3 separate regions of the Homo sapiens genome follow, and regions 2 and 3 are each linked to region 1. Evidence: promoter capture Hi-C in 16 types of primary human blood cells and fetal thymus (Javierre and others, 2016). All regions are on one chromosome and are shown on one strand. The core of a region is centred on a gene start or on the middle of the fragment in contact, and the rest is flanking DNA. Distances in the headings are between cores, read along the strand shown. Region 1 holds the start of KCTD8 (potassium channel tetramerization domain containing 8). Region 2 has its middle 240 kb from the start of LINC02475. Region 3 has its middle 230 kb from the start of LINC02475.

Region 1 (4,917 bases), core at 777-3,276:
ATTTAGAGTATAAATTTTTGATCACTTTATCTTATAGACATAATTTATTTAATTCAAAAGTAAAGATGGATTTCAACCTGATATTAGCGACTTCATATTCACATGCATATTTATTATATATCCACTTCATTACAGTTCTACAGTCTGCACCTTACTTATCATTAGGGACACTTACCTTATGATAAATGGGCTTCACTAGTAGTGGTTTGAGGCATTATTATATATTCATCTATGAAGATTATAAAGCATCTATTAATTCATTTATCCAGGAACGATTACTTTAAATCCCGAATATTCTTCTAATGAGGCAGAAAATAGTGTATTTTTTCTGTTATTTTAATACTTGGTTTTAACTTTTAAATGAAGGCTAAATCAATTAAATTAGTTAATTTGATCAATCAGTTTATAAATTTGGCAGGACACAATAGTTTTGAGTAAAAGGATTGCATGATGATGCATACCGAAACCCCCGTTTTAAGTCTCAGTCCTTTGGCAAATATATTCTGTTCTTTCATTGGTCCATTAGGTTCTCTCTGCTTCATATAATGCAACTTCAAAATTGGTATAACATTGTCTATGGATGCAGCTTATAAGGATCAATGATTTAAACATAATTTGTAATGTTCCAAAAATAATGTATTAATTTACAACCGTATCTGAAATTTGATACTTTTTTGGGTGGTTTGAAGAAAAGGAGTTGTTAGTAGGCATTTAACTTTTTAAAAAATATTAAAATCTGTATATCGACTGCTAATGGATAAAGTTCATCTGTAATATTGTTATGATAATTGAAGCAAACTACTTTGTGCCACAATACACCCTTTTCTCTTTTGTACTTCATAAATCAATGATTCTTTATGTTTCTGAACACAGATGTATGCCCCAGGGTAGAAGAAATATTTCTCATTTGCTTTCCTATTTTCAGTCTTTATCACAAGTAATGCTCATTTTGCAGACTGTACCTGTACTATGTACACATGGAAATTAAGGTGAGCTTAAATTCATATAATTTTTATTTGTGACCTTACTCTTGGGGTTAGAAGACTAATAAAAATATCAGCCACTTCTCTTGTTTGATGGAGCTGAAAGGGAAATGGAGAGATTAATGAGACTGATCAGGATTAGAAAGAATGAACAAATCGAGTAAATTTCCTCTCGGGCTCCGTCTCTCCCTCTATAAACATTTATTAAGCATCTAATTTAAAACTAAAAATTGTAAAAATGTCGGAAGGAAACAGTTGTTACATACACTCCTTTATTATTGTGAACTGAAAGCAGATTACAAAGTTTTAAAAATTATTCAAGGATATTCAGTGCACGCAGTCGTGAAATTTGATTCCAAGAGAGGTACGCGCATTTAGCCCTTCACTTAAACTGTATCATAAAGCCACTACAAGAGATGTACCTTCCCACCCTCACGTAATCTTTTTGCAATCACTGCTGGCAAGCCAACATTTGTGGTGATTTCAGATTAGGAGCCTGGCATCTTTGCTATAATCAAAACCTTATTCTCCCCTCTCCGCTCCTCCACTCCTTACCTTAATGAAAGTGCAAAAAACTAGTTTTACTGGGGAGGGAGGCAAGGAAGGAAGGAAGAGAAGAAGGAAAGGAGGGAGGAAAGGGGGTGGCACAGACCCAAGGAGGGAGTGAAATGAAGGAATGAGAGCGCTGTCCCTTTTTCTCGCTTTTGCTTTAGGAGCTCCCTGCCTGCCTGTCCCCGCGGGTCGGGGAGCTGCACCTCTTGCAGGCTCGGCTCTCGGCCCCGCCCCCTAGCGTCGGAGCCCGGGAGCCGCGGCTGCAGCCTATCTCTTTAAATGACAGCTGAGGCTCGGGTCCCAGTCCGGGGCTTGACGTCAGTGCCTCCTCCCGTGCTGCCAGGAGTAGTTAGCGCCACCGTCGGCGCTCCGGCCTCGCGGCACGCTTGCAAGCTGCCGGGGCGGCGAGTTTTCTTTGCTTCGGCCCCTCCTCCCGCCCTCCCCACGGAGAGCCGAGCAGCAGCCCTAGAGCCTCTCGCAAGTCTCTCTCACACTTCCCCGCCCTCGCCCCAAAGGAGCAGCAGCTCCTTCTTGCCTCTCCATTGCCGCCGCCGCACCGGCGGAGCTCCTCTCTCGCGCGTCTCTCCTCCGATGGAGCTCGGGCGCCGCCGACGCCGCCGCTGCCCCGAACCCTGAGCGGGGCCGCCCCGGTCGGAGGAACGCGCCGCCCAGTCCGAGGGCGCAGAGCGCCAGGAGCACGCGGAGGGCTGGGGCGCGGGCTCCGGGAACGAGAAAGTGCAGCTCTCTCGGGTCACTGGGCCGGCGGCGGGGGGACTATGGCTCTGAAGGACACGGGCAGCGGCGGCAGCACCATCCTGCCCATTAGCGAGATGGTTTCCTCGTCCAGCTCGCCCGGCGCGTCGGCCGCCGCCGCCCCGGGGCCCTGCGCACCCTCGCCCTTCCCTGAAGTAGTGGAGCTGAACGTAGGCGGCCAGGTTTATGTGACCAAGCACTCGACGCTGCTCAGCGTCCCGGACAGTACTTTGGCCAGCATGTTCTCGCCCTCTAGTCCCCGTGGCGGCGCCCGGCGCCGGGGCGAGCTGCCCAGGGACAGCCGGGCGCGCTTCTTCATCGACCGGGACGGCTTCCTTTTCAGGTACGTGCTGGATTATCTGCGGGACAAGCAACTCGCGCTGCCGGAGCACTTCCCCGAGAAGGAGCGGCTGCTGCGCGAGGCCGAGTATTTCCAGCTCACCGACTTGGTCAAGCTGCTGTCGCCCAAGGTCACCAAGCAGAACTCTCTCAACGACGAGGGCTGCCAGAGCGACCTGGAGGACAACGTCTCGCAGGGTAGCAGCGACGCGCTGCTGCTGCGCGGGGCGGCGGCCGCCGTGCCCTCGGGCCCGGGAGCGCACGGTGGTGGCGGCGGCGGCGGCGCGCAGGACAAGCGCTCGGGCTTCCTCACGCTGGGCTACCGGGGCTCCTACACCACCGTGCGCGACAACCAGGCCGACGCCAAATTCCGGCGTGTGGCGCGCATCATGGTGTGCGGGCGCATCGCGCTGGCCAAGGAGGTCTTCGGGGACACGCTCAACGAGAGCCGCGACCCCGACCGGCAGCCGGAGAAGTACACGTCCCGCTTCTACCTCAAGTTCACCTACTTGGAGCAGGCCTTTGATCGCCTGTCCGAGGCCGGCTTCCACATGGTGGCGTGTAACTCCTCGGGCACCGCCGCCTTCGTCAACCAGTACCGCGACGACAAGATCTGGAGCAGCTACACCGAGTACATTTTCTTCCGTAAGTTCGCAGCCCCGGCGTTTCCCAGCACCCCTCGCCCCCTGCTGAGCCGCCGCCAGTTTGAGCCCCGCTGGAGGCCCCGCGGGGGTGTCCGGGGCAGGCGCTGGTTAACTCCTTATAGAGAGCGGCTCTCCCTGCACGATTCCCTTATGCAGTAGACACGATTTACATTTCACCGATTCGGATATTTCCGTCTCTACTCCCCCTTTCTAGAACTCAGTAGCACCCAGCTCCCAGCTGTCTACTTGCTGAACTTTATTGATCTTGCCTTCTCGGCCCAGCCCGCTCCCAGATGCCAGGGTCTCCTCGGTTGCGGAGGACAGGGTGGGAGAGACTGGGGCACAGGGCAGGGTGCATAGACCCTCCTCCACCCCTTTGCTTTTGCAGGACTGCTGGGGGTCATTTCATGTGGCCCTCAGTGGTGTCCCTGCAGAGGGCAGGATGCCATAACAAGGCATCGCCTCGCACCACCTGGATCACCTGCTGTTGGTGCAGCTGCCGCGCGGGAGCCTCCAGTTACGGGTGGTTTTCTAGAGGGCAGGGGAGAAGCGATAAAGGTGCCCCCAGAGCCCCTCGAGGGGGCGGGGGCATGAGAGCGGGTGTGGGGAAAGGGGACTCCTTGACAGATGGAAACCCAGATTTCCCTGCGTCTGTTATCTCCAGTCTAATTGCCCAGTGTTTGGGACAGGGGAGGGTGGAAGGAATTAGAAAGTTTGCATGTCTGAGTGCTGCTCTTAGGGTTGGAGATTAGGAGGGGCAAGGGAGGAGGGAGGGAAGGTGTTGGGGAGGGAGGGGAAGAGAAAGAGAGAATGATTGTGTTTCCTTCTCCAGCGCGAAAGCGGGGGTTGAGTCCACTTTCTCAGGGTGAATAAATAGAGCGATTTTCTGAAATGAGAGAATGAAGGAATAGATTTGGGAAAGCATCTGGGGTGCGTTTTGCAGTGCGCTTCCGGAGCGGGCTATGTGGAGTTCAAGAACTATACCAAATACCATAATCTGAACCTGGGGATTGGGAGTGGGATTGGGAGTGGGGTGGGGCTGTGGTGGGCACAATTCTCAGTGGCGTTTATGAAGTGAAAAGACAACGACTAGAGAGCGATTTGGACAAACGAAAAGCCAGCTGGGATGGCAGCAGGAACATTATTTGGCAAAGGTTTTTCCTTTGGCCAGACACAAGTTAAAACTTGCCTGTAGCATAGGGAGAATAGCCTTGAAATCCTGTGATGGAAATAGACCAGCTTAAATTGAATTTATTTATTTTGGTAATTTAGTCACTACAGTAATTGGGAACTGAACAATTTTCTGGACTTTATTTTGACTGGAGAAATGGAAGGGAACTCTCCTTGCACAGGTGCAAGCTTAACTGGAAGGTTGGCTTAGTGTTTGTATATTCTGGTAACCTTGGAAGTTGGGTGACAAACCACAGCACACAGGTTCTCAGAGTTAGACTACTTTTTAAAGTAATGCTGGATTTCTTGAGACAACGGTTTCAACAGAGAAGCAAATGAAGTGTCTGTCCACTGAATTGGAAGCTAAAAAACTGTCTTAATTATATCAAAGTATTACTTGTTACACAATAAAAAGATTAATGGTCAGAAAAGCCACCCAAGGGAAGATATTTTATTGCTTGTATAAAATTGACATC
Region 2 (4,917 bases), core at 1,679-4,178, 680 kb after region 1:
TTCAAGACCAGCCTGGCCAACAATAGTGAAACCTCCTCTCTACTAAAAACACACAAAAAAATTAGCCAGGTGTGGTGGTGCACGCCTGTAATTTTAGCTATTCACAAGGCTAAGGTGGGAGAATCGCTTGGACCAGGACCCTGGAAGCAGAGCTTGCAGTGAGCGGAGATCACACCACTGCACTCCAACCTGGGTAATAGAGTGAGAGTCTATCTCAAAACAAAAACGAAAACAGAAACAATTTGGTTTAAAATATTTTATAATTTTATGACCCATGTCAATGAAGATTAAAAAAATTGAGGGTGGAGAGAAGTACTTATGTATTTGTTTATTTTCCAGTGAATACACATAAACATTCTTAATAATGTCCAGTCCAGTCACCATTGCTTTCTGTTCTTGTCCAGGAGCCATCTTTTCACATTCTTTATTTTCAAATGCAATCTGCCTAGCTAATTTCATATCTTTAACCCAAAGGAAAAATATAACAATACTACTATTACAATGCCATGGCCTGTCAGAATCTATTTGTATTAAAACATTTAGGTCTTCTTGCTTCTGTGGTTTCCTAATGTCATTTATGTAATGCAGATTACATCCTTATTCATGGCACAGCATCATCCATTATGACACCCACGACTATTGGCATCAAATGGCTCTCAAAAGTTGTTACTATGGTTCATTGACAATAACAACAAATCCAATTCTTACCTAGATTATTCAGGGAAAGATAAATAATAATTCATTTCATGACTATGTTAAATTTAGTTTTAACATAATACTGTAAACGCAAAATAACACATTGTTCAGCCATATCTTCTCTAGAACTCTTTAGGCCACAATTACTACATTCCTAGGTTGTGATCAGATAATGCTGGCTGAACCCCTGTTTTCCACGCCACATTACCCAAGCAGGCATCCTTTACCTTGTTCACAACACCTCCTTCCCCTGCTGGCATCCAAAGCCATCACCCCAACCCTTCCATGGGCTGGGTACCAAGTGTCAGCTAGTTTTTGGGAATGGCTCAACCTGTATTTCTTTTGTCAATATTTTTATCGTGGTAAAATACACATAATATAAAATTTACCATCTTAACCCTTTTTAAGTGTAGAATTGTGTGGTATTAACATTCATAGTACTGTGTAACCATCACCACTATCCATCTCCAGAAATCATTTTATCTTTCAAAACTGAGACTCTGTACACATTAAACAAATCTCCCCATTCCTACCTTCCTCCAGTCCCTGGTAACTACTATTCTACCCTTAGCCTCTATGACTTGGACTATTCTAAGTATGTATCTCATGGAAGTGGAATCATAAGGGTTGACCTTTTTGTAATGACTTATTTCATTTAGCAGAACGCCCTCAAGTTTCAACCATGTTGTAGCATGTGTCAAAATTTGCTTCTATTTAATGGCTGGATAATATTCCATTGTCTCTGTATATAGTACACTCTATTTATTCATTCATCTACTGATGAACACTTGGGTTTTTCTCACAATTTAACTATTTTGAATAATGCTGTTATGAAAATGAGTGTGCAAATGTCTCTTGGAGACCTAGATTTTAATTATTTCGGGTATGTACCCAACAGTGGAATTGCTGGATCATATGGTAATTTTTTTAGATGTTTTGAGCAACCACTATAATGTTTTCCACAGTGACTACCATTTCACATTCCCACAACCAATGCACAAGAGTATGAAGTACTCGATATTATCACCAACACTTTTCTGTTATTTTAATGGTAGCCATACTAATGTTTATGATGTATTATGTCACTGTAGTTTTGATTTGCATTTCCCTAATTATTAGTGATGTTGAGCATCACTTTTTGAGATGGAGTTTAGCTCTTGTTGACCAGGGTGGAGTGCAGTGGTGCGATCTGGGCTCACTGCAACCTCCGCCTCCTGGGTTCAAGCGATTTTCCTGCCTCAGCCTCCTGAGCAGCTGGGATTACAGACATGTGACACCATGCCTGATTAATTTTGTATTTTTAGTAGAGATGGGGTTTCTCCATGTTGGTCAGGTTAGTCTCAAACTCCCGACCTCAGGTGATCCTCCCGCCTCGGCCTCCCAAAGTGCTGGAATTACAGGTGTGAGCCACCGTGCCTGGCCAAGCATCACTTTTAATAGTCCTTTGTCTATTATTGAATCAGGTTGTTTGAGGTTGTTTGCTTTTTGTTAAGTTTTCAGGAGTTATTAATATATTCTGGCTATTAATCTCTTATCAGATATATGATTTCCAAATATTTTTCATTCTCTAGGTAGCTTTTTTGTTCTGCTCTTTGTGGTTTTTAACACACAAAATTTTTAAATTTTCATGAAGTCATATTTTTCTAGCTTCTCTTTTGTTGCCAAATTTTGTTTGCCAAAAGGAAAACAAAATTTAGTGTTGTATCCAGGAAATCATTGACAAATTCAACCTTTGAAGCTTTTGCCCTGTTTTTTCCAAGAGTTTTATATTTTTAGCTCTTAAGTGTAAGTCTTTGATCCATTTTGAGTTAATTTTTATATATGGTGTTATATATGGTGTCCAGCTTCATTCTTTTGCACGTGGATATCCAGTTTTCACAGCACCTTTTGTTGAATTGACTGGTCATTCCTATTGAATGTTTTTGGCACCCTTGTGACAAGTTATTTGGATACATATGTAAGGGTTTATTTCTGGAATCTCTATTTTATTCCATTGGTCTATACGTCTGTCATTATGTTAGTACCACACTGTTTTGACTACCATATCATTGTTTTGTTGTGTTTTGAAATCAGGAAGTATAAGTTCTCCAGCTTTGTTTCTCAAAATTGTTTTGGTTATTCAACATCTCCTGGGATTTCAAATAAATTTTAAGATTTTATTTTAATTTCTGCAAAAATCATTATTGGGATTTTTATAGGGATTGCATTAAATTTGTAGATTGTTTTGGGTAGTATTGACAACTTAATATTAACTCTTCCAATCCATAGTTATGGGATACACTTCCATTTATTTTTGGGGGGCAGTATTGACATCTTAATAATATTAACTCTTCCAATCCATTGTTATGTGATACACTTCCATTTATTTATGGCTCCAATTTCTTTTAGCAACATGTTCAAGTTTTCATTGTACAAGTCTTGTTTAAGTTAATTGCTAAACATTGTTCTTTTTGATTCCCTTGGATGCAAAATTCTTTTCCTAATTTTCTTTCCAGCTTATTTATTGTTTATTGCCAGTGTATAGTATTGCAACTGATTTTTGCATGTGTTGACTTTGTATCCCGCTACTTTGCTGAATTTATTTATTAGTTGTAAAAGTTTTTCTGTGGATTCTTTATGGATTTCTGCATATAAGATCATATCATCTGCAAACACGGATAATTTTATTTCTTCTTTTCTAGTTAAATGTCCTTTACTTTATTCCTGATCTTATAAGAAAAGCTTTCGGTTGTCTCCCATGGAATATGACATTTACGGTGTTTTTTATTATACATAACTTTTTTTTATATTTAGGCAGCTTTGTTATATTCCAACTTTGTTTACTGTTTTTATCATGAAAGGGTGTTGTATTTTGTCAATGCATTTTCTGCATCATTTGAAATGATCATGTCTATTTTTCTACCTCATTCTGTTATTGCAGTATGGTATATTGGTCAATTTTCATACATTGAACCATCTTTGTGTTCCAGGAATAAATCTCACTTGATATGATGTATATATTCCTTTTAATATGCTGCTGATTTGATTTGCTAGTATTTTGTTGAGGATTTTGGCATCAATGTTTATAGGGGACATTGGCCTATATTTTCATTTTTAGTATAGTGTCTTTTTCTGGCTTTGGAATCAGGGTCATGCTGACCTCATAGAAAAATTTAGCAAGTATTTCCTCTTCAATTTCTTGAAAAAAAATTGAAGTAATGGTGTTAGCTCTTTAAATGTTTGGTAGAATTTACCAGTTAAGCCATCAGGCCCAGGACTTTTCTTTATTGGAAGGTTGTTTTTTGATTATTCAATATCCTTATTAGCTATAGGCATATTCAGATTTTTTAATTTCTTTGTGATTTAGTCTTGGTAAGTTTTGCGTTAATAGCAGTTTGCCCATTTCATCTAAGTTGAGTTTGTTGGTATACAATTGTTCTTAGTACTTTTATAATCCTTTCTATTTCTGTAGAATTGGTGGTAGTTTCTGATTTTAGTATTAGGGATCTTCTCTCTTATTTTCTTAGTGTAACTAGGTAATGGCTTTTAAATTTTAACAGTCTTTTCATAGAACCAACTTTTGGTTTCCTTGATATTTTCTATTGATTTTTTCCCTACTTTATTGTTCTATCTTCTAATCTCTATTGTTTCCTCCTTTCTGCTATTTTTCAGCATAGTTTATGTTTTCTGGTTCCTTGAGTTGTAAAGTTAGATGGCTGGCTTGAGCTATCTTTTGTAAAAAAATGCCTGCCACCAATTTCACTGCACTTAGTTGAAAGAGACAGAGAGGTAGCAATGTGGTTATAACATGGGCAAGTGCGAAAGCTCAGGTTCACACACAAAACTAGTCAGATCACTGCAGTAGCCTAGAACCCTGAATGTATTTTGTGTGAAATTTAAGTGAGCCTCACTCAAAACCACCATTTTTGGGTCTTGGATGTTCCTTGTGAACTTTACAAAGGCTAAGCCCAAACCAGCTCTTCTTTCTTACTTGACTTCTAGGTAATTTTTATCTGATTTCTTAAGAAAAGGGGATGCCGTCTCTTCTTGAATTCCATTATCATTTCATAAACACTATCTTACTCCATGTCTTGATAAATCATAGAGAACATAAATATAATTAAAAACTTTGGCTTTCGACTGGGTGCTGTGGCTCATGCCTATAATCCCAGCACTTTGGGAGGCCGAGGCAGGCAGATCACTTGAGGTCAGGAGTTTGAGACCAGCCTGGCCAAAATGGTG
Region 3 (4,917 bases), core at 906-3,405, 660 kb after region 1:
GAAAAAGTCATCATAATGGGCTGAAAAGACATCAGGGTATAAAAGCTGGCTTTTCCATTTATTACTTATATTAAGTATTTCCTGAGCCTCAGTTTCTTCATCTGCAAAATGTGACAAATTCCATACCCTTTACTAATTTACTAAGGAAATACACATTTTAAAGACCTTACTACCAAGTGGTGTTAAGAGTGAAAGACGAATATGACTGCAAGCCTAGATAAAATTAGATTGACTCTAAATTTTTCTTAGTTATATATAACTCACCTCACAAAATGAAAATAGTGATGTGAAATCTTTTACAAAACTTGAATATGCTGTATGTAATATATTTGGTGGATTTTAATACTAACCGCATGATTTGAAAATGAATAGAATAGATGTGTATAAAATGTATTATAATAGGTTAGTACAAGTTTTAAAATTAAAAATGGCAATATATGTTTCCCTTGGTTATAACTTACTGTTTTATAATCAGGGATGATATAACATATATTTATAATATTTAATAATTATTATTGTAAATTGTTTTAATCCAGATAGGGTTATATTAAGTAAAAGTTTTTTCTTCAATAGTTCTCATACTAAAGTATTATGGGTAAAATGATATAGTGGCTAGAATTTGTTTTAAACTAACAGAAAGGGAAACAAGGATAATTTGGTGCGTATAGATAATAGATAAAACAAAATTGGCCAGTTGTTTAAATTTGTTGAGGCTGGGTGAAGGGTATATGAATTTAACTAGATTACTCTCTGCTACTTGTGTTTTTCAAAATGTTCATAATAAAAATTTGAAATAATAGATATAATTAACATTTGACTTCTGGATGATTTTTTGGCAGTGCTTTCTGGGAACCTGTTTCTCATCTCAAATAATACACATTTATAAGAGCTAGTTAAAGCTTGCCCACTATGAAGTTAAATAGGGCTGATCAAAATTTATAAAATGGAAAAGTCTTGAATAAGGTAGAGATGTCTGAAATATGCCAGCACCTTGAGGATGTGACTCATTGGTGAGATAGGGAAAATCAGCAGTACTAGCAAAAGGAAGAAGGAAGCTGATGAGGAAAGTGCAACAGCAATGAGGACTGGAGCAAGATGGATAAGCAGCAGTAATGCTAGTAGTAATGAGTTATATCGATGTGTGCAAAGGAAATCTGTCAGTCTTCCACAACATAAGTGAAAATGAAGACAGATATATAATAAGAAACACATAGTAGAGTTATGGTTTAAACAAATCAGAATAGAATTTTTGAAAAGCAAGATATTTCAAAACCCAGATGACAAAAGAAATGCATAGAATCTTGCATCTAGTATCCCAACGTCGCAAATTAATGCTTTGGTGAGATGAAATTAATACCTCAAAAGAGATTCTCATTTAGCTGTTTGTTTAGGAACATCTTTAGGAACAAACACTACATGCTTAGTGTAACTGTTTTGTACATTTCAAAATAATGTTCTTCACATTGTAAATGTAGTGATATATTTTGCACTAGAAAAAAATATAGCACCTTAATATCATAAGTTAAATCTCATACACCTAAAAAATGATGAAACCAGGACTTATATCCAATCACTTATTTCAGTGTACTGACTCTTACTCATGACCGTTTAGTTGATTAGAGATTCTGAAAAAGTCTTCTGAAATTATGTGCTTAAAAAGAGAACTCTTGAATAAGAACATATTAGTTCAAATTATGGGAAGGATTGGTCCTCCTGCCATAAAAAAGCAAAACTTGGCCGGGCGCTCATGCCTGTAATCCCAGCACTTTGGGAGGTCAAGGGGGGCGGATCACTAGGTCAGGAGATCGAGACCATCCTGGCTAACAAGGTGAAACCCCGTCTCTGCTAAAAATACAAAAAATTAGCTGGGCATGGTGGTGGGCGCCTGTAGTCCCAGCTACTCGGGAGGCTGAGGCAGGAGAATGGCGTGAACCCAGGAGGCGGAGCTTGCAGTGAGCCGAGATTGTGCCACTGCACTCCGGCCTGGGCAAGACAGTGAGACTCCATCTCAAAAAAAAAAGAAAAAAAAAAAAAAAAGCAAAACTGGACCATAAAACAAATCTCAACATATTTAAAAAGACTGAAATAATGTAAAATATGCTAGAAATCAATGATATTAAAATACCTACAAAATTTTCAATTATTTTGAAATTAAACATCAGAATTTTAAATAACACATGAATCAATAAGGCAAACGGGAGAATTTTAAATATATACACACATGCCCATTTAATTTTAATTACACCATTTATTTTGTAAAGTTGTAGATTCACATGTAGTTTTTACAAATAATACAGGTGAGCCTTGTTTAGACTTCAGTCAGTTTCCCCCAGTTGTAACATCTTGAAAAACTATAGTGTAATATCATAACTAGGATATTAACAATGTTAGAATGCACAACTTACTCAACTCTCTCCAGTTTTACTTTTAATCATTTATGTGTTTATGCAAATTTATCTCATGTGTAGGTTCATATATTCACCATGAAATCAAATTACAAAACACTATTGTCACCACAGGGATGTCTTGCATTGCCCTTTTATAATCATATCCACTTCTCTTTTGCTTTCCCCTCCTCCTTCTTACAACTGGGAAACCTCTAGTTCATAGTTCTCCATTTCTATATATATTTTTCCATTTCAAAAATATTATATAAATAAAATAATATAATATGCAGCCTTTTTAAGTTAGCTTTTTCCCACTTAATTATATTTACTAATTCAAGCATATTTGGCTGTTTCTGTTTTTTTTTACTATTATGAAAAAAGCTATGGATATTTGTGCACAGATTTTTTTGTGAACCTAAATTATCATTTTTCTGGGATTAATGGCCAAGTGTGTAATTATTGGGTAGTATTGTCATTGCACGTTTGGTGTTTTTAAGGAACTGCCAATTATTTTTTCCGTAATGGCTGTACTAATTTATTAATGTAACCTCTGCTGCTCTTTGTAAATTAGTGTTTGGCTAGTATATGACTTTCCACCCTTTAATTTTAACCAACCCATGTAATTGAATTTGAAGTCAGTTCCTTATAGACAGTAAATGGATACATCATCTTCTTTTTTTTTTTTTTTTGTTAATCCACTCTGTCAATCTCTGTCATTTGGTATATTCAGGTCATTTATACTTAAGGCAATTAGTGATATGTTAGAACTTGATTTTGTTACTTTATATTATTTGTTTTCTCTGTTTCTTATTCCTTTTTTTTTCTTTTCTTTTCTTTTTTTTTTTTTTTTTTTTTTTTTTTTTGCAATTGTGTAGATTACCTAGACATTTTCCTGGATCCTTTCTTGATTTTGTTATATTATATTTGAATGTGATTGCTCTGGGTATTGCAATGTATATATGTGAATTATCAGAGTCTGTTGGTATCAGCATTTTATTTGTTCAAGTGGAGTGGGAAAAGCTTACTTCCCTTTAGATTTCTTTACGTTTCCCACTTTTAAATATCATTACCTTGAGTATCAGATGGTATTGTAATTTGTTTACATATGATTAGATTTTGATTAGGTATGATTTATAAAACTCATATGATAAATTTTATTTTATATATTAATATTTCTTCACTTTTCATTGATCTGTCTTGTTCTCGAATTTCCTTATTTTATCATTTCTTTTTTAAAAATAATTTTCTTTAGCCAATCGTTAAGAGTAAGTCTTATGGCAACAAATTATTTTAGTTGTCTTGTATCTAATATATTTTCCCTTTTATTCCTACTGTTTGCCATTTAGATAATTCAAAATTAATAGATTTTTTGTTTCCTAGAAGTAATGTGTCATTTCTCTCAATGATTTCAAGACTTTTTTCTTTGTTTTTAGTTTTCAGAAGTTTAATTATGATATTATATTGATGTAAATGTATTTGAGGTTCACACAGCTTCTTGACTCTGTTGCTATATGTCTTCTGCCAGATTTTGGAAGTTTTCAGCCATTATTACTCCAAATACTTTTCTAGCTCATCTTTTTTCTCCACTCCTCCGGAACTCTGATAATATAATTGGGGGTCCTTTGTCATTGTTCCACAGGTCCCTGAGGCTGTGTTCATTTTTATCAGCCTATTTTGTGTTGGCAGTATTTTCTTATTGCTGTAGTAACAAATCCCCAAAATTTAGTAGAACAAAACAACACAGTTTTATTCTCTTACATTTCTAGAGGTCAAATATCACTCGGCTAACATCAAGGTTTTGGCAGGATTGAGTTTCTTCTGGAAGCTCTAGGAAGGAATACTTTTTCTCCTGTATTCCAGCTTCATTGTCCATTTTCAAAGCAAAAATCACATTTATATGACATCTGTTTACACCATCATATCTCCTCTGATCCTGAATCTCTTGCCTCCTTTTTTTCCTTTATAAGGACCTTTGTGATTATATTGAGTACACCCAGATAATCTAGTATAATCTTTCCATTTTAAGATCCATAATTTGATCACTTGTGCAAAGTCACTTTTGTAATGTAAATTTACATATTCACAGATTCCAAAGATTGGGACATGAATGAGGGACCATTATTCTATTAATGTCCACCCACTGGCTGCTAAATGTTTTTATTTGTCCCACATGCAAAATGCTTTCACACAACCCAATTCCAACATTCCTGAAAGTTTTGACCCATTACAGCATCAAAGTCCAAAGATCTCATGTAAATATGATCAGTTCAAAATTCCCAAATCTCATAATCTAAATCAATTATAAATAAGATTCAGTATAATGCATCATGAGACATAATTTTTTTTCTATCTGTAAATTTTTGAAACTAGAAAAAATGTTGGTGTTTTCTCCCAAAATACAGTTGTGAGCCAGGCACAGGATACCAGTTATGGGAATTTCCATTTCAAAAGAAGAAAATGGAAGAAAAAAAAATCACCAATATCCAGCAATTTTGAAATCCAAAGTGGCAAATTCCATTAAGCCTTGGAG

Evidence for each region. The method cuts DNA at HindIII sites, captures the fragments that hold promoters and counts their contacts. A CHiCAGO score of 5 or more calls a contact.
Region 2: a contact is called between a fragment that was not itself captured here and the fragment with the promoter of KCTD8 in region 1, in 1 of 17 cell types (endothelial precursors). The highest score is 7.1, in endothelial precursors.
Region 3: a contact is called between a fragment that was not itself captured here and the fragment with the promoter of KCTD8 in region 1, in 1 of 17 cell types (endothelial precursors). The highest score is 5.6, in endothelial precursors.

Annotation. Positions count from the first base shown.
Region 1 is chr4:44,445,918-44,450,834 of GRCh38, reverse strand. KCTD8 (potassium channel tetramerization domain containing 8) reads left to right here and starts at 2,026. Exons shown (of 2, transcript NM_198353.3): 1 at 2,026-3,272. The coding sequence starts at 2,312. The HindIII fragment of the contact is 5,511 bases long and covers 1-4,632 here.
Region 2 is chr4:43,770,349-43,775,265 of GRCh38, reverse strand. No RefSeq gene overlaps it. Among named protein-coding and RNA genes, the nearest start is that of LINC02475, 240 kb to the left of the region's middle. The HindIII fragment of the contact is 983 bases long and covers 2,437-3,419 here.
Region 3 is chr4:43,785,960-43,790,876 of GRCh38, reverse strand. No RefSeq gene overlaps it. Among named protein-coding and RNA genes, the nearest start is that of LINC02475, 230 kb to the left of the region's middle. The HindIII fragment of the contact is 2,508 bases long and covers 902-3,409 here.